5 separate regions of the Homo sapiens genome follow, and regions 1, 2, 4 and 5 are each linked to region 3. Evidence: promoter capture Hi-C in 16 types of primary human blood cells and fetal thymus (Javierre and others, 2016). All regions are on one chromosome and are shown on one strand. Each heading gives the region's core, a stretch centred on a gene start or on the middle of the fragment in contact. The rest is flanking DNA. Distances are from core to core; before and after follow the strand shown. Region 1 overlaps LOC105369147 (a long non-coding RNA gene). Region 2 has its middle 16 kb from the start of CTHRC1. Region 3 holds the start of LINC01181 (long intergenic non-protein coding RNA 1181). Region 4 overlaps FZD6 (frizzled class receptor 6). Region 5 has its middle 29 kb from the start of SNORD173.

Region 1 (4,673 bases), core at 1,266-3,765, 150 kb before region 3:
GTAGATTTGAGCTTGTAGAAGAAAGAAACATTGAACTTGAAGATAGATCTTTTGAGATGATTCAGTTTGAAAAACAGACAGAATAAAGAATAAAGAACAAGGAACAAAGTCTCAGAAAAATGTGAGACACTATTAAGGACACCCACATATACATTAGTGTGAGTCACCAAATTAGAGGAGAAAAAGGACAGAAAACATTTTTGAAGAAACAATGGCTGAAAATTTCCCAAATTTGATAGAAAACATATACCTCTAAGAAGGTCAGTGAATTCCAAGTAAGATAAACACAATCACTTTCCACTTTTAAAATGTGGAAAGACAAAAAGAAAGTCTTGCAAACAGCATGATAAAAATAATTCATCACATACAAGGAAATCCTAAGATTAACAGCCAGTTTTTCACCACAACAGTGAAGGCCAGAAGGCAATAGGACAACATAGCAAGACCCCATCTCTACAAAAAACAATAAACTGGGCTTGGTGGTGTGCATTTATAGTTCCAGCTACTTGGGAGGCTGAGGCAGGAGGATCACTTGGGCCCAGGAGTTCAAGGCTGTAGTGGACTATAATGGTCACTACACTACAGTCTGGGCAACACAGTGAGATCCTGTCTCAAAACAACAATAATGACAATAAAACCTCCCCCCGAATTCCCAATAATAGTTGGAGATTTCAATACTCCAGTTTCAATAATGGATAGAAAAATGAGGCAGAAGATCAATAAGGAGATGAAAGAGTTGAATGGGGCCATAAACCAACCTGACCTAACAGAGATATATAGGACACACTCCATCAACATTTTGCTCAAGAATACACATTTACAACAGAATACACATTTTGCTCAAGTGAACATGGAACATAATAGACTATATGGTAGGTCACAAAACAAACCTCAATAAATTTAAGGAGAATGAAATAATACCAAGTATCTTTTCCAATCATAGTGGAATTAGATTAGAAATCAATAACAGACATGGGAAACTGGCAAATATGTAAAAATTAAACAACATGTTATTAACCATGGTTTGAAGAAAAAAATCACAAGGAAAATTAGAAAATATTCAAGATGAATGAAAACAAAACATAATATATGGAAACTTATGGTATACACCTCATGGAAAACCTGATCCTAAAATTCATATGGAAATGAAAGATATCTAGAATAGCCAAAACAATAATGACATGAAAAGAACAAATTTGGAGTACTCACACTCCTGATTCCAAAACTTACCACAAACTTCAAGTAATCAAGATTGTGTGTTATAGGCATAAGGATAGACATATAGATCAATGGAATAGAATGGAGAGTCCAGAAATAAACTCATAAATCCCTGGTTAGTTTAGTTTTGACATCAATAGGTGAAAGAATAGTCTTTTCTGCAAAGGATATCCACATGCAGAAGAATGGATGTAGACCTTTATTCACATCATACACGAAAATTAACTCAAAATGCATCAAAGACCTAAATGTAAAAGCTAAAGCTATAAAACTCTTAGAAGAAAGTATAGGAGTAAATCTTTATGAACTTGGGTTAGGCAGTGGTTTCTTAGATATTGCACCTAAAGCACAAGAAACCAAAGAAAAATAAATAAATTGGACTACCGAAAAATTAAAGCCTTTTGTGCTTCAAAGAAAGTATGAAGACAATGAAAAATAACTGACAGAATGGGAGAAATCTGGAAATCACGTGTCTAATAAGGTTATTGTATCAAGAACATATGGAAAACTCTTACAACTCAACAATAAAACAAATAACCTGGTAAAAAATGAGGAAAGTACTTAAATAGTAATTTCTCCCAAGAAGATATATAAATGGCCAATAAACACATGAAAAGATGCTCAACATCATTGGGAAAATGGAAATAAAAACTAAAACAAAATTCCACTTCACACATGCTAGTATGGTTATGAGAAAAAAAAGACAATAACAAATGTTGGTGAGGATGTGGAGAAAATGTGTATACTAGCTTGTTCTCATACTGCTGTAAAGAACTACAGAGACAAGGTAATTTATAAAGAAAAGAGGTTTAGTTGGCTCATGGTTTCACAGGCTGTACAGGAAGCATTGCTGGAGAGGGCTCAGGAAACTTACAGTCATGGCAGAAGGTGAAGGGGAAACAGACATGCCCTACATGGCTGGAGCAGGAGGAAGAGAGTGAATGGGGAGGTGCTAGATACTTTTAAACAACCAGATCTCATTAGATCTCACTCACTATCGTGAGAACAGCAAAGAGGAAATCCGCCCCAATGATCCAGTCACCTCCCACCAGGCCCCTCCTCCAACACTGGAGATTACAATTTGACATGCGATTTGGGTGGGGACACAGAGCTAAATCATATCTTTCTGCCCCCAGCCCCTCCCAAATCTCATGTTCTTCTCACATTTCAAAACACAATCATGTCTTCTCAACAGTCCCCCAGAGTCTTAACTCATTCCAGCATTAACTCAAAAGCCTAAGTCCAGAGTCTCATCTGAGATTAGGCAAGTCCCTTTTGCCTATGAGCCTGTAAAATCAAAACAAGTTAGTTACCTCCAAGATACAATGGGGGGTACAGACATTGGGAAAATGCTCCCATTCCAAAAGGGAGAAAAATTGGCTAAAACAAAGGGGCTACCAGGCCCATGCAAGTTGAAATCCAGTAGGGCAGTCATTAAATCTCAAAGCTCCAAAATAATCTCCTTTGACTTCATGTCTCACAGCCAGGCCACACTGATGCAAGGGGTGGGCTCTCAAGGCCTTGGGCACCTCCACCCCTGTGCCACTGTGGGGTACAGTCCCCAGGGCTGCTTTCATGGACTGGTGTTGAGTGTCTGTGGCTTTTCCAGACACATGATGCAGGTTGTCAGTGGATCTACCATTCTGGGGTCTGGAGGATTGTGGCCTTCTCCTCACAGAGGAGCAGTGCCCCAGTGGGGACTCTGTGTGGGAACTCCAACCCCACATTTCCCCTCCACACTTCCCTAGAAGAGGTTATCCATGAGGGCTCCACCCCCACAGCAGACTTCTGCCTGGACATCCAGATGTTTCTATATAGCTTCTGAAATCCAGATGAAGGCTCCCAAGCCTCAACTCTTGTCCTCTGCACACCTGCAGGCTTAATACCACATGGAAGCCACCAAGGTTTATGACTTGCACCCTCTGGAGCAGTGTGGCCTGAGATGTATCTGGGGCCCTTTAAGCCAAGGCTGGATCTGAACTGTCTGGGACGTAGGGAGAAATGTCCTGAGGTTGCACAGGGCAGCAGGGCCTCAGGCCTGACTTCTGAAACTACTCTTCCCTCCTAGGCCTCTGGGCCTGTGTGGCAGGGAGGCTGCTGTGAAGGTCTGAAATGCCTTCCAGTTCTTTTCCCCATTATCTTGGCTGTTAACATTTGGCTCCTCTTTACTTATGCAGATTTCTGCAGCTGGATTGAATTCCTCCCCAGAAAATGGATTTTTCTTTTCTATCACATGGTCAGGCTGCAAATTTTGTAAACTTTTATGCTCTGCTTCCCTTTAAAATACAAGTTCCAGTTGTAGATCATCTCTTTGCTCATGCATACGACCATATTAGAAGCAGCCAGGTCACTTCTTGAATACTTTGCTGCTTAAAAATTTCTTCTGCCATATACCCTAAATCATCACTCTCAAGTTCAAAGTTCCAAAGATCCCTAGAGCATGGGCACAATGCCACCAGTCTCTTTGCTAAAGCATAGCAAAGGTGACCTTTGCTCCATTCCTAATAAGTTCCTCATCTCCATCTGAGACAACTTCAGCCTGGACTTTATTGTCCATTTCACTGTCAGCATTTTGGTCACAATTTAACAAGTCTCTAGGAAGCTCCAAACTTTACTTCATCTTCCTTTCTTCTTCTGACCCCTCCAAACTGTTCCAACCTCTGCCTGTTACCCAGTTCCAAAATTGCTTTTGCATTTTCAGGTATATGTATAACAATGACTCACCTCTCTGTTGCCAATTTTCTATATTAGTCCATTTTCACAATGCTAAAAAGAACTTCTTGTAATAGGATAATTTATAGAGGTTTAATTGGCTCATGGTTCCACAGGTTGTACAGGAAGCATGGCTGGGGAGGCCTCAGGAAACTTAGAATATAGCAGAAGGTGAAGGTGAAGCAGACATGTCCTACATGTTTAGAGGAAGGGGAAGAGAGCAAAGTGGGGAGGTGCTACACACTTTTGAACAACAAGATTCTGTGAGAACTCACTATCATGAGAACAGCACAGGGGAAATCCCCCAACCATGATTCAGTCACCTCCCACCAGACCCCTCCTCCAACACTGGAGTACAATTCAGCATGAGATTTGGGTGGGAACACAGAGCCAAATTATATCACTGGGATGCTCATTTTTGCTGGTAGGAATGTAAAATGTAGCAATTGCTTTCTATAACAATTTGGCAATTCTTTAAAAAATTAAGGTTATCAAATGACCCAGAAATTTTATCCAAGAGAAATTAAAAACCTATGTCTACACAAAAAGTTGTACTCAAATGTTCAGAGCAGCATTATTCAGAACGGCCAAAAAAAGTAGGAACAACCCAAATTTTCATCAACTGGTGAATGGATAAATAACATGTAGAATACTCATACAATGGAATATTATCTGGCCATAAAAAGGCATGAAGTTCTAACACACGCTGCAACATAGATGGGCCTTGAAAACATTATGCTAGG
Region 2 (4,654 bases), core at 172-2,671, 240 kb before region 3:
ATAGCCATAAAATCCAACAGTGTGGCATCTTCACCCACATTCCTAAACACCTAGATTACAAGGCTGTTTGGATTGGTATTAAATGGTCAACCTACCCACACTCTGTACTGATAGACATTAAATATACACCATCCTTACCAGTTTATGAGTGATTGGAATTTTTGTTGTTCTAAGAGAATACAAGTTGTTGGAAAATCATAGACCCTAAGTTACTGGTGCAAGATAACTGAAAGTCCCTGGCCTGCCATTATGATAAGTACATTCTACATGCATCCTTTGTTATTTCTGCATATTTATACAACTGGAAGCTAACACTCTCTGCAGTGCCTGGGGGGAAGTGCTGATTTCTTAGACCTGGAAGAATTCTATTTCATTTATTCTGAATCATAGCATACTATATGCTTTCAACGTGGGTAGTCTTTCATTTCCGGTCAAATTTTCTCCCTTTTTATTAAGTTACACAAAGCCATGCACTTTCTTCCCCTCTTCATTATGCTCTGTGTACAGAGGTTTTTTTAATCAGCATCCTCTGAACAGACTCTGCTTTGTAAGAATTCCTCAGAAAATTGTTCACTGTGCAGATCTGTGTTTGAAAATGGCCACGATTAAAGACATTTCTCAGCAGTTCAGATGACTCTTTGCAGCCTGTGTGTCTCTTTCAAAGTACAAAGAACCACCTGTTTTTGATAAAAGGAAGCCAAAGTAAGCAGGAGTTTTGAAACGGCATCTCAAAACACTTAGGTTTAAAAAATATGTCCAGTTCTCCAGTCTCCCTCCACAAATCTCCATCTCCATCAGCTGCACTATGATTTCTCGTTTTTCTTCTCCAGCTCCTCTGTTAGAGATGCGATTGCATTGTTGGTATAAAGTCATGTTATTGTAGTGGAAATTCAAATAAGCCAATAATTTTAATCTCCTCCCTCACATCACAGGGATTTTAGTAAATGGCAAAGCAAGCTGAATATAGTTTTACCTTTCCCTAAACTAGCCGATAGATAATGCTAAAAAGTGAAAAAATGCAATTGATGGGTGACAGGAGATAGAAAGATTAAGAGGTTTGGATACCGATATGGTTTGGATTTGTGCCCCCACCCAAACCTCATGTTGAATTGTAACCCCGAATTCTGGAGGAGGGTCCTGGTGGGAGGTGATTGGATCATGGGGTCTGATTGTCCTGTTGCTGTTCTGGTGATAGTGAGTGAGTTCTCAAGAGATCTGGTTGTTTAATACAAGTGTGTAGCTTTTCCTCCTTTACTCTCTTCCTCCTGCTCCGGCCATGTAGGACATGCCTGCTTCCCCTTCCGCCATGATTGGAAGTTTCCTCAGGCCTCCCCAGCCATACATACTTCCTGTACAGTCTGTGGAACCGTGAGCCAATTAAGCCTTTTTTTCTTTATAAATTACCCAGTTTCAGGTATTTATAGCAGTGTGAGAATGGACTAATACACATACGAAACAAGAAATTGGTAACTATTCAAAGAACAAAACAAGAGATAATGGAATAATTCATTGTCAATATGGCAAAGAGATTACTGGTTGTGAAGACTTGCTAACCACTGTGTAGAAAATTAAAATTAAGTCTAGGCAAACTCCCTTCCCATGTTCTTTACTGTGATTTGAAAATAATCCATTGGCAATATTATCAGATGCTATGGTAGTATTATCAGAGTTATCAGAAACATCCTCCTGTCACCTTTTCCTTCTAACTCTTGGCTAGTTAATGATTCCTACTTTTTTTTTTTTTTTTTTTTTTTTGAGATAGGGTCTCACTCTGTTGCCCAGGCCGGAGTGCAGAGGTGCAATAACGACTCACTGCAACCTTCTCCATCTGGGCTCAAGCAATCCTCCCACCTCAGCCACCCAAGTACCTGGAACCACAGGCACATACCACCATGCTGGTTAAATTCTGTAATTTTTTTTTTGGTAGAGATGGGATTTCACCATGTTGCCTAGGCTGGTCTTGAGCTCCTGGGCTCAAGTGATCTGCCCGCCTCAGTCTCCCAAAGTGCTGAGATTACAGGCAAGAGCCATGGCAACTGGCCAATGATTCCTATTTTTGTGGACACTGTTGATCCCTTAATTTATGGACTGTATAGAAAAGCATGCTTCAAAATTTATAGATGACCCAAAGCTAGAAGAGATAGCAATATAATGCTCTAGCTGCATGCTCCAAAGCAAGAAAAATATCAGCTGAATAGATGAGGGTATAATGGGGAGGGGGAAGCATGCAGATATTGAATTACTCACTAGCTAAGTGAAAACCAATGAATTCTTATACAGAAGAAAATCACTGGAAATTGAAAAATGAGAGATAATAAAAATTCTCATGTATCCATTAAACAGATATACACATCTACTAATCCCAGCTATATACAAATTTTCTTTTGGGGTTTAAATGCACCAGGTTAGATGCTACCACCAGTTGTATGTGACTGTCATGCTAGGGGTAAGACGGGATGACGTGGGGCTCTACCCCTTCATGGTTTCATGGTAAAATTTCTTCATCAGATAACTGGAGTGCTTGGCATGGGCCTTAATTGTTAAGGTGATTGCTCCCTTGGGTATCACAGGAAATTTGCACCCTTGCCTTACTCCTTTCTACCTTTTCTTTCAGGTAGAATTCTTCTAAGAGCCGGGGTATATCCTCAGCATCTGCTTAATATGTCTCCAGGAATCTCTGCATCTTGGTAACCCTATATTAAGTGTCTGACAACATTTCAAGTTTATGGCTGGAATATAACATTCCTGGGCTACCTCCCAGTCACCCTGCCTTGCCACCCCATATTCATGCACATAGACAAAGACAAAATCCTGCATTTCTACTCTAATTATCTTTTTTTTTCATTTTTGAGACAGAGTCTCAGTCTGTCGCCCAGGCTGGAGTACAGGAGCATGATCTCAGCTCACTGCAACCTCTGCCTCTTGGTTCAAGTGATTCTTATGCCTCAGCCTTCCGAATAGCTGGGACTACAGGCGCACACCACCATGCCCAGCTAATTTTTTGTATTTGTTAAGTAGAGATGGGGTTTCACCGTGTTAGCCAGGCTGGTCTCAAACTCCTGATCTCAGGTGATCTGCTGGCCTTAGCCTCCCAAACTGCTCAGATTACAGGTGTGTACCACCGCGCCTGGCCTGGCTTAATTATGATTATACTGCTCCATATTTACAATTATCAAGGCTGGGCTGATATGGCTACTGAAAACCAAGGCAATCTTAGTGGCATTATAACCACTATAATAAATAAGTGCACTGACAGATGTAAACTGTTGTGCATGCTTAAGAGCAGCTCTCCAGTACTGGGTTCTACTCCAGACAACAGAGTTTAAGAGCAACATTTTGTGAATACAGCACAGGAATGCTTCTAAGTAAAGTGAGCATGATTGTGAAGGGGTTTAGAAACCGTCTCAAAAGAAGGAATTGTTGAAAAAATGGAGAAGCCTAGCTAAGGGAAGCAAGGCGCAAAAACCTGAAGGGCAGTCACAGAAGGGAGAGAAAAGCCTTGGTCTGTTGTGCTCAAGGGGATGGTGTAACCTTCCTGAGATGATCTGCTGCGTTCCAGGAAGTGCCAAGAGTGGAAGCGAGCTTTTTGGGCTGATGTTTGCATTGTGATAATAGTCCAGTTGCCCTGGTGGTGAGTAGGCAGGAACACAGGTACTGTCTAAATGTGCAGCGGTACCTCTGTGAGGCCCCCTATTTGAGGGTAGTTTGCATATGGCAATTGTGGTTGATCTTGGAAGATAAAGATTATATTCTAGAAATAGGATATGAGAGGGCAATGTTTAACTCCCGGAAACTGAGCTTGGTAGGTAGTACATGTCTCAGGGACTGAAAATGAATGCCTAGTCTCAAAACAGTCTTGAATCACGGACAGTTTAAGAGTGGCAAGGCTGTGGGGGACAGACCCCATACTTTAAAAAGCAGGGATTAGGCACTCCACTTTTTTCTCGATTTTATTGCAGGACATTTCATTGTGAGGATATCCCACACCCCTCCCCCCACCCCCAGCCCTGCCTTACCTGGCAACGATGTAAATCACCTCCTGCACTTTGGACTGCCTCTAATATATGGTGCCCTGTTAACTCTGTCACATGAGGTTTCTCCGTTATTCCTGGAAGTCATTCATTCATTCACTCAGCTAACATTTATGGAGCACCTGCTATGCATTAGGTTCCTGTGCTAGGCACTGAGGAAAGATGATAAGAAAAAGACATGGTCTCTGTCCTCAAAGAGCTCTGTGCTTAGAAAGAAAGATTTCTAATGTGGTGAGTGCAGAACAGGGTGATTGGTGCCATGGTAAAAGTGAGTATAGGTTGCCCGAGTTGGGGAGATTGAAGAGAGGAAGAGGCCATGGAAGGCTTCCTGTAGGAGGTAATACCTGGCCATTATAAATAGCAGGTTGGAGTTAGCCAGGCAAAGGGCAGATACTGGGATTTGGGGGAATCAACATGGAGAGTAATGAAAGGAAGGGCATTTGGTTAAGGTGGCAGTATGAGGAATGGCAGGGAACAGCCCCACCACATTCAAGAAGCTGTACAGCTGGGGTTGCCAGAGCTTATGGTGCAAGGCAGAGAGTGTCCAGAAATGAGGCTGGAGGGGGTAGCGGGGGTCAGTGCATGGTGAGCTCTGTGTTCCCTGGGAAGGTGACTGGTTTTGT
Region 3 (5,230 bases), core at 1,361-3,860:
CAAAGAGCTTCCTTGTTCTGTTTTCCAGCTGCAGGATTTCATCGTGTGCGGAGGTGCCATGATCTTGCTCACCAGTCCCCAGTCAATAGACATTAGCCCCATTTCCATTCTTCACTGTAGCTGATGCTCTTTATTCTGAGAAAACTCCACTCCCTCCTGAGAGATCGTGAGAGTCTCCCGTGACAATTAGCCTCCTCTAAGCCACAAGACATGGCCACGTTCTCAAGTTACTTTAACAAATGGAGTGCATTGTGAGACACACAAGAACACAGACCAAAAAAAAGAAACTGGGAAGCAGCCTGACAAAGGCAGGTGGAGAGTAGCCCCACCCTGGGCACCAGGCACCTCTGCCCATTTCCTGCCACCACCCATGGCTGTGAGGGGCTCCATGAGCCACCCAGACACTGTCACCATGTCTCCCATCCTGCCAGTTGCTGGGCTTTGGCAACTAATCAGCCTGCATCTAAAAGCAAGGTCATTTTAAGAGGGTCTCTGTGACTCTGGCCTCGCTTGCTGAGTCCAAATGTCCATACAGGAGAGGGGCAGGATCTCTATCACATGGCCCCCTTGCTACCAGTGGAGGGTGTCCAGGTTCTTGGGGTCTTGAACAAAGAACTGGACAAAGTTACAAACAAAGGAAGGAAAGAATGAAGCAACAAAAGCAGAGATTTATTGAAAATGAGGTGGGAGTGGCCCCGAGCATAGGGGCTCAAGAGCCCTGTTACAGAATTTTCTGGGGTTTAAATACCCTCTAGAGGTTTCCATTGGTTACTTGGTGTACGCCCTGTGTAAATGAAGAGGATCAAGTAAAGTTACAAAGACATTTACTGGGTTTACGCCTTGTGTCAATGGTGAGGATATTTCCTGTAATAGCTGAAGTATTTCCATTTGATTTAGTTCTAGGAAGTCAGCATGAATCAGTCTTATGTTCCCTGCCTCCAGACCGTATTCTCCTGTCTCACCCCGGGCAGACGTGGGGAGCTGCTGGCTGGTCGGCTGGTCAGCTGGTCAGCTCCCCTGGGAACAGGGCCCATCCCAATTCCCACCAGGTGTAGCCAGGGTGGTGAAGTCAAGTGGGACAACGTGAGGGCCTGTGCTTAAGGCCCCGTTTCCTCGGAAGGGGTTTGGGGCACTCAGGCATCAGGTACTGTACCTCCTGCCCAGGGATCCCAGAGCTGCCTAGAGGAATTTGAGCAGGCTGGAATTCCTGCTGAGCAAGCAAGGCCAGAGTCACAGAGACCCTCTTAAAGTGACCTTGCTTTTAGATGTAAGCCGATTCAGTCTAGGGGGAAAAAATGACCACATGGAACCACTTATAAGGCTCTCTAGCTTAAAAAAAAAAATTATACACCTTAGCTCACCAAAGTCTCCAGGAAGTAGACATTATCAGCAGCATTCCCATTTGACGAATGAGAAGACAAGCTTACAGAGGTTACCTGAATTGCGAGGATCACACAGCTAGTCAGCAAGGGAGCTGAGACTCAAACCTGCGTCTTCAGATTCTGGTTTGCGCCTCCTTCTGACTGCACAGCCCTGCAGGCTCCAGAACATCTCCCTTGCCGGCTCTGCTTCCTTTCCTCAGCTGTTGAATGGTGATGCTCCCAAGGCCGTCCGTTAGGGCCTGCATTTCTCTCCCTCTCCACACTCTCTCTGGTTGTTCTCATTTACCTCCTTGCCTTGGCCTAATATCAAAAAGTCAGTGGCCCCTAGAACTCTCTCCAGCCCAGATCTTTCTCCTGAGTTCCATACCTATATATCTAATGCCTTACTGGACACCTCCACATGGCTGTCCAAGCCACCTCAAGTGCAGTGTTTCTGAAATGAAACTCATCTTTCTCTGTAAACTGCTTCTCCTTCTGTGTTCTCTGAGTAGCAGTGACTTCACTTCTGAAGCACAGACTATGTGTTAGTTATTTCACACATGCAAGAGCGGGGTATCATCGTCCCATTTTACAAAAGATAAAAGTAAGGCTTGGAGACGTTAACTTGCTTGCACAAGGCCATAGTACCAAGTCGTTGACAGAGCCAGAGTTCAAATCAAACTCTATTCTGCATTTCTCTCACTGGCACAGGCTGCCTGGAAACCATGGGGCCTCAGCTCTTCACTCTGTTGCACGAACCAGAAGTCATGGTTCATTCTTGACTCCTCCAACCCTCCCCACCCTCTTCCCACCCTCACCCACCCCAGCTTCTCACCCCCACAGCTGCCTCAGAGCTGAGTCAATCAGTTCTACCACCTAAATGCTTCGCAAGCTGTGCCTTCTCTCCATTCCTATTGTCACTTCCTTGGTTTAGCCCCTAAATTATGTCTCCCTCATTACCTGAAATAACTTCCTAACTAGTTTCTTTGTCTCTAGTAACAACCCCGCTTCAAGTCCTCTCTCCCTGTGAATGAGCTTTCTAAAATATACCCAATCATTGCATTCACCTGGTTAAGACCTCCAAAAGCTTCCACTACCTCCAGGATAAATCCCAAATTCCTGTTTCTGCTGATGCCTGTATATGCAGGTGATCCCTTGCTGGGTCTCTGAAATGGGTTCATCTCTTCAAGGTTTTTACTGAGACGATATAGTCCTCTTGTTGCACATTGCACTGATCCAGGCCATCTGTACTGTATTCCAATGAGCTACAGAAAAATGCTTGCGTGAGAGCCTTTCATATGCAAAAATAAAGACTGAATTATGCCATAACTATTGATAAGTCTACAGTAATCCATCATGCAATTGTTTACCCAATAGATTGTGTTTATATTGTCTTTGGTACCATGTAATTTGTAAATTTTCATGACAGTGTAACCAGTTAGGCCTAGGGTGGCAGGACTTAAGTGTTGCTGAATCATTTATTACTCCACACCTCATTGAAAAGTGCTTCATAAACTTTCTGAAACTGTTCAACAGACAGAGGGTAATTTGTGCTCTGCCAACAAAGGATTCTGTTGTTGAGTGCCTATCAGCATATTAAAGGTTCAGAGAAAACCAGCAATGCAGAAACTAGAGCAATTTTGTTCTCAGAAGATAGTTTTCTTCTGCACATCCATTCGTTAACATATTCTAAAAGAGTCTGCCCTCAACAGGAGTTTGGGGAAGCACTGGGATAGAGTGCAGAGGCCCTGAGGCTTCTGGAGTTTATCTGACTCTGACATCAGGATGCAAGCACAGACCTGCCACTCTCTCAGGAACATCTTTCGTTAACTCCCGTTTGTCTTTCAAGATTCAGTTCAGATGGCATTTCCTCCTAGTGCTCTTCCTCCCTCTCTGTCTGTCACACACTCACAGGTGCATATGCACCCACACATTTGTGACATGTATAATAATTGCATGGGATTTCCTAACACCCTCTTTCATAATACCTGTCTGTATTTTCTATTGGTTGATAGAAAATTCAGCCCAGACGGATGAGAGCCAACAGGAAATTTATAGGCATTGGAGGCACGCTGCTGCAGCAGCTCCAGCCTCACCCATCCCCACCCTGTCCCAGGTCCAAGTTCAGCAGGAAAGCAGGATTGTCTCATAGGTTTTGTGCCCTGCCTGAGGAAATTCCCCAGATTGTGAATCCCCAAAGGTAGACCAGGGTCTCTTATCCCATATCCAGCCCTTAGCACCTTCCTTGGCATGCCTTGTTTTCAACAAATAACAAATGGGGACACAAAATGTTCAAAGCAAGACTTCTACCTCGAAGGAGTTTATAGTCTAGTTCAAGAGTCACTATGTATAAACAGAATAGAAATACAATAGACCATACAAGGTAACATAAATGCCAAATGAGTGACTTGGGTATTAAGTATCAAAGGAATTCAAAGAAGGGACAGTTTTGGGAGTTGATAAATAAGACATAGATCCTGAACTAGAGAAACTGTTTCTAGTAGGAAAGAAAGGTATGTTACACAGAAAATGCCAATACAGACTGATAAGTATGGGGGCAGAGTGTTCATTACCATGTTCTGTTGGTTCTAGAAAGCTTTTCTTTTTCACTAAATGATTCAAATAATAGCAGCCTTATTTTTCTTGGTCTTATTTACTTTATTTTACTAATAAATTTTTCAAGATGAGAATAGGGGATTTCCTGTTTTGGTGTGTGACTCAGGACACAGGGCCCCACATCGCAGCCTGACACATAGCAGCCTGATTTCATTTCACTGCAGCATCACAGTTTTCCATAACTTCTCTTTTTTTTTTTTTTGACAGAATCCTGCACTGTCACCCGGGCTGGAGTGCAATGGCATGATCTCGGCTCACTACAATCTCCGCCTCCTGGGTTCAAGCGATTCTCCTGCCTCAGCCTCCCGAGTAGCTGGAATTACAGGTGCCCGCCACCATGCCTAGCTAATTTTTTGTATTTTTAGTAAAGATGGGGTTTCACTATGTTGGCCAGGCTGGTCTCGAACTCCTGACCTCATTACCCGCCCACCTCGGCCTCCCAAAGTGCTGGGATTACAGGCGTGAGCCACTGCACCCAGCCCATAACTTCTCTTTTTAGCTGAGCATTTAGCTGCTGTTAAATTCAATTAAGTCCTGCCCCTAGAAGCATGCTGTGGATGACTGCAATAACACTTCTGCCAGAAGACCATGCAGCTGGGCATGTTGACCTCACGGATTAAGGGCTGCAGACATGGTGGGAAATATTTCCTCTCTCTGATAGAACATTTTCCTCTCTGATTTTGCCACTGGAATTTGAACAAATTTCATTTTAAGGGTTGGTCTTCAATGTGCAGGATTTAGACACCAAATCCTCCTGGGCAGAGTTTGGCAGAAGAAAGAGGAAGACCTGGTGATGTATGGTCTCTCACAGTCCCCTGAAGACCCTTCAGTGGCTCCGCATCACTCACAAGACAAAACTCCAACTCTGACAATGACCACCAAGGCCCTCGCTGCCACCTCTAAGCCAGGCTCATCTCTCAGTGCTTCCTAACTTGCATTTTACCTCCAACAGCTCAAAAGTGCTCCTGCTCCCATGCGCCGTATCCCATGCCCTTGCTCGTGCTGTTTCCTGGCCTGACACTCACCACCTGTGGCCTGGTTAACTGTGTTATCCTTTAAGCCTCAGCTCAGCTGTCGCCTCTTCTAGGAATCCTTTTCTGATCCATCTGCCTGTTGAGGAATAAGTGCTCCCATGATACATTGTGTGCACCTCTATTTGTACGAATGAACTAGGGTAGGACTTACCTTTTGCTAGAGGGTAGATCCATCATTAGCATTCCACGCAGGGCACAGCATACAGTGGACATTCAACA
Region 4 (4,974 bases), core at 137-2,636, 200 kb before region 3:
ATCTGATGGTAAATTCTGAACATCCCTTCTACTCAGCTCTTAACAGCAATCGACACAGTGACTCCTAGCTTCCTCTTGAGGCCCCTTTTGCACTTGTCTTCTAGGACACGAATTCTCTTGGATTTCTGGCTGTCTCACTGGCTGTTCCTTTTCTAGTCCTCTTCCATTTCCCAATTATGATCATTGAAATGCTCCAGAGCTCAGTCCCCAAGACCTCTTCTCTATCTCTACTGACTCTCAAGGGAAACTCATCCAGTCCCCATGTCTACTGTGAACCACAGACTTGAATGAGCATCTGCTCCGGGACAACTCCATTTGGCTGTTAATGGGCATCTTGAACCCAAAGTATGCAAAATACAACTCAATCCCACCGTATCTCTGCCTCCCAAACACTCCCTTAGTACTCTCCATCTCAGTAAATAATGCCACCATTTACCAAGTTGCTCAGGCCAAGAATCTTACAACTCATTCTTTTTTCTTTCTTTCTTTCTTTCTTTTTTTTTTTTTTTTGAGACAGAGTCTTGCTCTGTTGCCCAGGCTGGAGTGCAGTGGCATAATCTCAGCTCACCACAACCTCTGCCTCCCAGGTTCAAGCAATTCTCCTGCCTCAGCCTCCCAAGCAGCTAGGACTATAGGCGCATGCCACTACGCCCGGCTAATTTTTGTATTTTTAGTAGAGACGAAGTTTCACCATGTTGGCCAGGCTGGTCTTACAACTTATTCTTTACTCCTCTCTTCTTTCACTCCATCTCCAACCCATCAGCAAATCCTGTTGGCTCTCCCTTTAAAGTATATTCCAAATCTGACCATTTCTCACTATTACCACCCAGTCTAAGCCACTATTATCTTTCACCTCAACTACTAAAATGGCCTCCTAACAGGTCTCACTACTTCCCACACTTGCTAATCTTACAGTCAATTTTCCAACCAATGCGATTCTTTAAAACGTAAGTTTATCCTTGTTCAAAGACTCCAGTAAAATAAATTCCAAAGTCTTTTCCAATTCCCATGAGCCTTTAAATTTCCGTGTTCCCCGCTATGTCTCCAGTTTCATTTCTGACCACTTTGTCTCTTATTTACTCCATTGCCACTAAACTGGACTTCTACTTCTTATAGTTCCATGTGTATTTCTGTCTCAGAGTCTTTGCACTTGCTGTTCCCCTCACCTCTTCACCCAGATAGTGAGTCTTGTGCCCTCATTTGAGTCTCCACTCAATTCACCTCAAAGAGGCATTCCTGCCCATCCTATCTAAAATTATCCTGCTCTTATCTTTCCCATTACCATGGTTTGCATTTCTCTTAAATCCTTATTACTATCTGGCATTTCATTATGTACTAGTTTATTTAATTTTTGCCTTTACCACTAGAGTGTAAATTCAAAGAGGGAAAGGATTTTGTCTATTCTGTTCACTGCTCTATCTCCAGTGCCTAAAGCAGTGTCTGCTACATGGCCATTTCTCTATATTTACAGAATAAATGCATGATTCTCCAAAACAATAAATGAACACTGACAAAGCATATCAATAAAACATTTCAGAGCATCAAGACAAAGAGAAGGTCATAAATGTTTCCAGAGGGGGGAAAAAAACAGAATACATGTAACTAAATTAAACTGTGAATATTTGACAATATCAGAAGCTAGAAGAAAATGAAAAAATGACTATAAAATTCTAAAGAAAAATGCATTTCAACCTAGAATTCTAGATCCACCCAAACATTTAGAGAGTAGACTACTGACATTTTTGGCACTGTAAGGAATACAAAATTTAAACTTTCAAGTATCCCTGTTTAGGAAGCAACTAGAAGATGTAATATTCCTGAAACAAATTGAAGGAATATATGAATAAACAAGGAAGGAAAATAATATGGGACCCAGGAATTAGCTGATTCAACACTGAAGAATGACAAGAGAAATTCTCCATGTGACAACTACAAATCTAGTCCAGAAGTAATCAGAACACATTTGACAGAAGGGCAGATGGCTGAAGAAGAAAGGTCTCCAAGGGAAAGGAGCGGGGATTGAGATTGACAGAGTATATGTTATTTTGAGCACTAGGAAAATTGCTGCTAGGTGTATGACAAGTCTGTTAGGATATCTAAAAATAGTCAGACATTGTTACATAAAAAACAAATGAAAATACAACTACTGTGTTAATTGTTGGGAGGGTATTAAAAAAATAAATGTAATCAAAGTATACTACCTGACTCAGCAGTGTACAATATTTAATATTTCTAGTAATATTATCACTGACTATTCATTTAATCAAAAACTGTATCAGGAGGAGAAGTAAAAGTGGCAGGGTAAGAGAAATGAATTATCAATTACCCTAATAGGAAAGAATAAACAGAAACGGCCTAAAGTGCTAAACTGATTAATCTATAACCAACAGAGTAAACCTGTTAGTTAGAATGTGGCCTGCATACCAGAGGAACACCTAAAACAGTTCAAAGAGGCTGCCTCTCAAGGGCAGGACTGGGATATGGGTGGAAAAGGGTGGGCAAGGACTGTTATTTTTCTGTTCAAAGCCTTTTAGTATTGAGGGTTTTCTTTTCCAGCTTTATTCAGGTATAGCTGATGTATGATAAACTGAACATGTATAAAGTGTACAATTTGATAAGTTTTGAAATGATTATCACAATCAAGGTAATAAATGTATCCCTCACCACCAGAAGTTTCCTCTGGCTCCCTTGTCATCCCTCCTGCTCTTCCATCCTCCTCACCCCCTCAGTAACTCTCACGCCTGACAACAACTGATCTGCCTTCTGTCACTGCGGAGTGGTATTTTCTATAATTTTACGTAAGTGGAATCATATAGTGTGTTTTCTTTTTTGTCTGGCTTCTTTCACTTAGCATCATTGTTTTGTGATTCAGTCATGTTGTCTGATGCATCAGTAGTTCATTCCTTTTAATTGCTGAGTAATATTCCACTGTATGGCTGTACCATAATTTTCTTAACCATTTACCAGTTGATGGACAGTCTGAAGTGCACATTTGAGTGTGAAATATCTACTAGCAGGCAGTTAAATAAAGCTACGTAGAAGTGAGACTTTAAATTAAGGATATGGATTTACAAGTCATCAGTATAAAAGTGGTAATTGAAATAACTGGCTGAAATTACCTAAGGAGAATAAGTAGAGTGAGAGAAGATGAAAATTCTGATTCAAGGGAAATACACTGACTCTATATATTAGCATCTCCTTCCACTCGAAATGCCATTGAAATGAAAGAAAAGGTTTAAAGGTAAAAAACAAATCCATAACTGCATTAAAAAAATAAAGAAAGGGCTCCCTATAAGCTTTGGGAAATTTTTGAAAGATAAAAAGAAGGAATGACAACTTCTTTCATCAGTATGGCCAACTAAATATCTCCTGCCACAAAACATTCAGGTTCTGGATAAAGTGCAACACATATACTTTGAAATGCATTGCTGAGCACTGTATACACCTTAAAAATAGCCTTAAAACATATAAACAAAAAGCAATAAAACTATAAGGAGAAATGGACACTTCCATGGTCATGAGAAATTTCAATATATCTGCTTTAGTAAATGAACGGTCAAGCAGACAAAAATTAATAGGTAAATATAAGCCTTGATTACAGACTACAATTAACAAGTCTGACTTAAAGGGCATATACAGAACCCACACCCAACAATTAGAGGACAATAGCTATGAAGGATGTTGGACCAGTGGGAAGTTCCCCTGTCCTGATGGGGCAAGTGACTGAGCAGAGACAGGGTTGCCATGGTTGACATATATTATTGCTTTTATTTGAATGATGCTCTGAGATTGGATCCTTTGTCACCTCACAGGAACTTGGAGTGCAAACAGCACAGTACTTTTCTCAGTTTCCTCCATCGTGAAGGGGAGAGAGTGCCCAGACAGTGTGCAAATCCTCCTCTGAGCCTGAGGTAGGAGAAGGGGAGCTGCGGGCAACTAGTAAACTGTGGTAAACTCTTTGTTTACTGTCCCAAAAAAGCCTAGTTCCTAAATTTTTTGACTATGTGGTAATCAGATCCTTTGGTGGAAAGAATTAAAACACACTATGTTTATTTAATTCTTCTAACTCAGAAGCCATGATTAACTGGTGGTCAGCACTTAAGAAGTAATTATATAGTTCAAGGGCAGGCAAAATGAATGCAATACATGTACTTTTGCTATACAAAAACAATTTTCTTACATGGAAAACACAAGTCACTTCCCTAATTTAATTCTTTTACAGTGCCAAAGTTGGCTAATCCAATAATGTTGATGTTCCTGCACTGTGTAGAGGATAAACTGAATGCTGAAAACTCAGATACCTTCAGAGGCCAGGCAGGTAAATGAAAATGCCTGTAAGATGATAGGGAGTATTTGGGAAGCTGCTGCTACTCAACTCCAGCAGACTATTATTTGGAAATGGGGGCATAGAATTGTCAGGTATATCCATTTTTCCTAAGAAAACAGAACCTAGATTGTTATGTGTAATTTCCCAAATTTTAGATTTTGGCACTTTAATCTATACATTTGAAACAGGGCCCCCCCCTTCCCTGACACACACACACACACACACACACACACACACACACACACACAGAAAAATCAAGTCTCAGGTCAGATCCAGTGTGGGCTACCAACTTCCAAGTTCAGTTGCAGATGAATAGACTTAAAGAATTTTAGACTTGGAAGGGACTTGAGAGAAAACCTTTAAGTTAATTATTTTCGAAGTGTATGTGTGTCTGTGTGTGCACACATGCACACTTTGCCAAGAAACATTTTCTTTAAATAAGAAGTTAAAAGGAGGCCGATATACTAAATAAATAAAGGCATAGTTTCTTGGGCTGAAAAGGAAGCTCTCCCTGCTGAGATACTTCTCACCATTCCCCTTTGCTACCAGTGACCTCAGAGCACCTCCAGAGATCACAATTGGAAAACCACTGACCTAATCTAAGCCCTTGGATCAAGTGAGAAAACTGAAGCCAATTTCTTATTAAA
Region 5 (5,025 bases), core at 2,485-4,984, 220 kb before region 3:
ATAGTGGCACGTGCCTGTAGTCCCAGCTACTTGGGAGGCTGAGGCAGGAGAATCACTTGAACCTGGGAGGCAGAAGTTGCAGTAGACGAGATCACATCACTGCACTCCAGCCAGGGTGACAGAGCAAGACTTTGTCTCAAAACAAAACAAAACAAAAATTTTAAAGACAGAAAAATGCTGTTGAGAGTCACTGAGTTCAGGGTCTATAGTGTGCAGGTTATCTTGCCAAAATATCATATACTTTTTCTTCTTGGCTATATTCTAGAGGTTGAATGGCAGATCTAGCAGTGATAGAAGAATATCTTTGGGAGACTCTAGTGGTCTCCTGGGCCACAGCTGGGGCTTACCTTTCACTGATGTATTAAGTATTCTTATTGGAACATTTTGTCCTCTTGGTTAAAAATAATGAATCTTTGGTTTAAGTGTCAGATGGTTAGGAAAGTTATTTTTGCTATTGGCAAACATATTAAGAGGAAAAATTGACTCATCTGGTCTAGAGGGAAAGGACTAGGTTAAATTCTAAAATCAAAACCTAATCTCTTAGCAGCTTAGGCAGTAGGCAAGTACAGACAAGAAACTTAGGCCCTTCACAGTTCAGCCTATGTAGGAACTATCCATCAATTTGGGAAATGCTGATCAAAATTCGATGGTCCCCATGAACACTTAGCCATGGCTACTAGGACAAAGCGAGCTATAAACAGACAACTTTCTCAGCTCCATGGGCTCCTGTGCCTCTGTCAGAACTCAAGGGCCTGGGTCAACTGCATGGCTCTAAGGGACATGGGTGAATATATTGCTGGAGTTTCCAGAGAAAAACGGGGGTTTATCTTCTGCAGAAAGCCACGAATGCCTTAGATTCTCCCTAACCTCAGATCTCACTTTTGAGCAGTTTCTCAACTTGAGGTTGAGGCATATAGAAGTAAATTGTGGTGATGTGTTGCCCACTGCTGGGGGCACTTGAGGTACTGGTGGTGTGTGCACTAGGGTGTGGACAGGAGGAATCGGCCCTGGTGGGTGTTCCACTGAACGCAGCCTACCTCAGCTTCCTCTCCTTCACCTGTGTCCCTGATGTCTCACCCTGGGAGGCTCCTCTGTCTTCCCTGTGCGGGAACAAATCAGCAGGTCTGGGCTTTATTTGTGGGGGTGGGAGTCAAATCTGGAGAAGGGACTGAAGAGAAAGAAGCAGGCACAGAGGTTCCCAATAAACATGTGGTGATTGCCAACTAAAGAGAATATGGTTCCAGAGAAAGGAGAAGCGCAGGATTGAGGAGCCAAGGGGAGTTTGAACTGGATGCACCGGTGGCTTTTCCCGACCTCAGCGGTGTGGGCTGCCCCTTCCTGGCCTGCAGGTGTGTGGCCCACATCCCCAGAAATAATGGCTGCTTCAGGCTCAGACTCAGGTAGATGTGGCTGAATCCACGAATTAGCTAGATTTGTGCTTAGTGGATTTTCTTTTTAAAAAAGCAGATTCTTGGCTGTGTGTGGTGGCTCATGCCTGTAATCCCAGCATTTTGAGAGGCCAAGGCAGGTGGATCACTTGACGTCAGGAATTCAAGACCAGCCTGGCCAACATGGTGAACACCTGTCTCTATTAAAAATACAAAAATTAGCTGGGTGTGGTGGCAGGCACCTGTAATCACAGCTACTCAGGAGGCTGAGGCAGGAGAATCAGTTGAACCCAGGAGGTGGATGTTGCACTGAGAAAATGTTGCGCCACTGCACTCCAGCCTAGGTGACAAAGCAAGACTCTGTTTCAAAATAAATAAGTAAATAAATAAATAAGCAGATTCTTAATGATGACATATGATATATTAATAGAGTCTCCTTATAAAAATGTAAACATTACAGATCAGGCTAAAGTCTGCTTTGTTCATCACTTACAATACTGACCCCCTCCACAGAGATAACCCATGTTTCTATATTTTCCTGGACTTCCCCTATGCATTTATATACATGTAACCATAGAAAACATATAGTATTATTCTATGGGGTGAAGGTTGTTAACACACATGGTATCATTATGCATGTAGATACATTTATAAGTAATAATAGAAAATATTAGTGTGGTTTTGTGGGGTGGATGTAGTTTATATACATGGTATTATTGTGTAAGTGTAATTTTGCAAGTTTTTTTGTGCTTAAAAATATTTTGGGAATTGATATGGTTTGGCTCTATGTCCCCACCCAAATCTCACCTTGAATTGTAATAATCCCTACATGTCATGGGAGGGACACACTGGGAGGTAACTGAATCATGGGGGCAGGTTTTTCTTGTTATGGTGAATAAATCTCATGAGATTTGATGGTGAGAGTTCCCCTGCACGTGCCCTCTTGCCTGCTGCCATGTAAAATGTGTTTTACTTCCCCTTCGCCTTCTGCCATGATTGTAAGGCCTCCCCAGCCATGTGGAACTGTGAGTCAGTTAAACCTCTTTTCTTTATAAGTTACCCAATCTTGGGTATGTCTTTATGAGCAGCGTGAGAGCAGACTAATACAAGAATCTTCCATGTCCGTGCAGTTAGATTTCATATGGATTACCTGCTAATTCTTTAGATGTTCGTCCCCCTTGCAAGGGTGAATGCAGTCTCCCCTGTCACTCGTACTCTTGTTGAGTGAAGGCTGTGTTTTTATATTATGTTTGATCTCTTCGGACTGTCCAGGTAGCCAGATTCTGCCTTGTCTACAGTGCCCCCGAGGCGCCCTCCCCCAACTCTTGGTTGTGTTGTATGCCACGTTCATGGTCTTTGCTTTCGTAAAAGAACACCTTTGGATTGCTCACTGTCCATGTGGTAAGCCTGGAAAGGCCTCCCCAGAGCCTGAGGATGCATGACAAGGAGGCAGTGATGCCTGTCAGTTGAGGAAACACAGCCCTCCTGTTTTGTTTTACTGCATCCTTTTATTTGCCCACAGCCTGCCAACAAGGTCAGCTCCAGAAACACAGAGTGTCATTCTTTTTCACATGGAGCCTGCACTAATAGAGGTGGCAGTTAAGAGGCTGGAAATGCCAGCAAGTGTTTTGCCAGTGGTCAACTTTGTTTACAAGTCTGGAGGTTTCTGTTTTATGAGAATTCTCATGAGGGGACACTGGGCTGACAGTTAGGAAGGACTAAAACCATGAGGGAAGCTCTTACCTTGCTGGTGAGTTTCTCTAGATAATGTGTAGTATGTATATTCAGACTTATTTCCTCACAGTGAAACTAATTAGATCCTGGAATAGGTCCCTAAGGAAATAAACCCACAAACTAGACAGTTTTACTCTAGTTAGCACTTGGGAAAGAAGATATTCAGATATTTCATTTTCTTGAAACTTTAGAAAAAAATTTTTTCTTAATCTCTATTGATTTTGTGCCTCTCTTTTCAACATATTCTAAATGTATTATAATTATACTTATAATTAATAGTATATAAACATAAGTATTAAATGTAAGCTTTAATAGACTCTACACTAGGTATGTTTGTTAAAACCTAATCTAAGTGAAATAGTAGAAAATACTTAAAGTGTGTTCAGTATTAATGAAGATGAACTATGGCATGTGTTTAGAAAATAATTTATTTGAAAACTTTCTCTAAGACGTTTCTACCAAGACTTAACTAGGTTTGTCCTCCTTCATGTCCTTTTTCTTTTTGTGGTGGAAAATTAGAAAACCTGCACTTCAACGTTTTCTCTGGCTCTTTTTTCCTTCTAGGGATAGAAAATACAAATCTCAGAATTGGCTGCTAAATTTACTCACCTTAGCAATAATTTTCCATCTGTGTTTATTTCTAATTAGTATTTACTGCCACAAGTCTTTCTCATTTTCATTTCATTGTATTTCTTTCCATACTGCTTCCATTTGGCTCCCATCCTTCAGTAATATTCATAACGAACTTCACTATGCTTCTCTCCACTACCGCCTGGCTCTGGATCCCAATGTCTTTGATCATTTTGGATTAATCTTTTAATTTTTTCTTGCTCTTTGTCGACACATTTTCACTGTAAGTTAATGAAAGTTTTGATTCTTCTGCACATGACAGATCACAGGGGCCACGGTTAAAGCTTGGAATTTAAGTATCTGACTTGTGCAGTGGGCAGTGAGGTATTCAATATCATGCCTTCCATGCAGAAAAGCAACTGCAGAACTTCTTGTGGTTATTACAAATTGTATCTTTCATTTCCTGAGAGTAACTGCCTGCTTGGCAAGGTTAAAACTTTCCAGCAGTAGGAACTGGAAACACCCACCTGTGGTAAGTTTCTGAGAAGATCAAAGAGTAAGAAAGCACTAAAAAAAAAAAAAAAAAGTAAGAAAGCACTAAAACTGTGATTTTGATGATGGCTGGCAATTATGATCTGTTTTCAGTCTAGTTTGATCAAGAAAGTGTAGGGAAGATTTCTTCAGAACCATAAACAGCATAGCAGTGGTGGATCCCATTGGGTATCCTGGGTCTTTTTGAAACATGGCATTTCATAAAATTTTGTTGAAGGTTTGTAGCAGACTTTCAAAGTGAGGGTTTCTAGCAGACTTTGCTGCTTTGGGTTTACCTGCACAGTGCTCGTGCCAATTTCGTTATTGTAAATGTAAATATGTAATTTAAGCCAACTTTCTTGGCTGAAAACTGTTATGTAATTCTTATAAAAATTAATGTCACCTTTTCTGAGACAGCAGGCTTTTTTTTTTTTTTGAGACGGAGTCTCGCTGTGTCACCCAGGCTGGAGTGCAATGGCACAATCTTGGCTCACTGCAATCTCTGCCTTCTGGGTTCAGGCAATTCTCCTGCCTCAGCCTCCTGAGTAGCAGGGATTACAGGTGCCCACCACGACGCCCAGCTAATTTTTGTATTTTTAGTAGAGACAGGGTTTCACCATGTTGGTCAGGCTGGTCGACAGCAGGCTTTTTTTTTTTTTTTTTTTTTTTGCCTCAAAGACTCTAGTCCCATGAAAAAGAAAAATTGCTTTTTAAAAAAATTAAATAATGCTTCTGAATTTTGCTATTAAAAATAAATAGTTTTAAAATTCAAACTTACTTATTACAAATATTGTAATATTGC

Evidence for each region. The method cuts DNA at HindIII sites, captures the fragments that hold promoters and counts their contacts. A CHiCAGO score of 5 or more calls a contact.
Region 1: a contact is called between a fragment that was not itself captured here and the fragment with the promoter of LINC01181 in region 3, in 2 of 17 cell types (megakaryocytes and endothelial precursors). The highest score is 8.6, in megakaryocytes.
Region 2: a fragment that was not itself captured here is called in contact with the fragment with the promoter of LINC01181 in region 3 in 1 of 17 cell types (erythroblasts); the score reaches 5.4 in erythroblasts.
Region 4: a fragment that was not itself captured here is called in contact with the fragment with the promoter of LINC01181 in region 3 in 1 of 17 cell types (megakaryocytes); the score reaches 6.0 in megakaryocytes.
Region 5: a contact is called between a fragment that was not itself captured here and the fragment with the promoter of LINC01181 in region 3, in 3 of 17 cell types (megakaryocytes, naive B cells and total B cells). The highest score is 6.4, in megakaryocytes.

The regions. Positions count from the first base shown.
Region 1 is chr8:103,269,860-103,274,532 of GRCh38, reverse strand. All of the region lies in intron 1 of LOC105369147 (a long non-coding RNA gene), which reads left to right. Among named protein-coding and RNA genes, the nearest start is that of FZD6, 27 kb to the left of the region's middle. The HindIII fragment of the contact is 6,521 bases long and covers 1-4,673 here.
Region 2 is chr8:103,353,244-103,357,897 of GRCh38, reverse strand. No RefSeq gene overlaps it. Among named protein-coding and RNA genes, the nearest start is that of CTHRC1, 16 kb to the left of the region's middle. The HindIII fragment of the contact is 7,742 bases long and covers 1-4,654 here.
Region 3 is chr8:103,118,412-103,123,641 of GRCh38, reverse strand. LINC01181 (long intergenic non-protein coding RNA 1181) reads right to left here and starts at 2,610. Exons shown (of 6, transcript NR_145429.1): 1 at 2,429-2,610. RefSeq lists an enhancer at 1,072-1,573. The HindIII fragment of the contact is 1,509 bases long and covers 2,451-3,959 here.
Region 4 is chr8:103,313,362-103,318,335 of GRCh38, reverse strand. The region is part of intron 2 of FZD6 (frizzled class receptor 6); the gene reads right to left. Among named protein-coding and RNA genes, the nearest start is that of SNORD173, 6.9 kb to the right of the region's middle. The HindIII fragment of the contact is 3,824 bases long and covers 1-3,298 here.
Region 5 is chr8:103,335,814-103,340,838 of GRCh38, reverse strand. No RefSeq gene overlaps it. Among named protein-coding and RNA genes, the nearest start is that of SNORD173, 29 kb to the right of the region's middle. The HindIII fragment of the contact is 608 bases long and covers 3,431-4,038 here.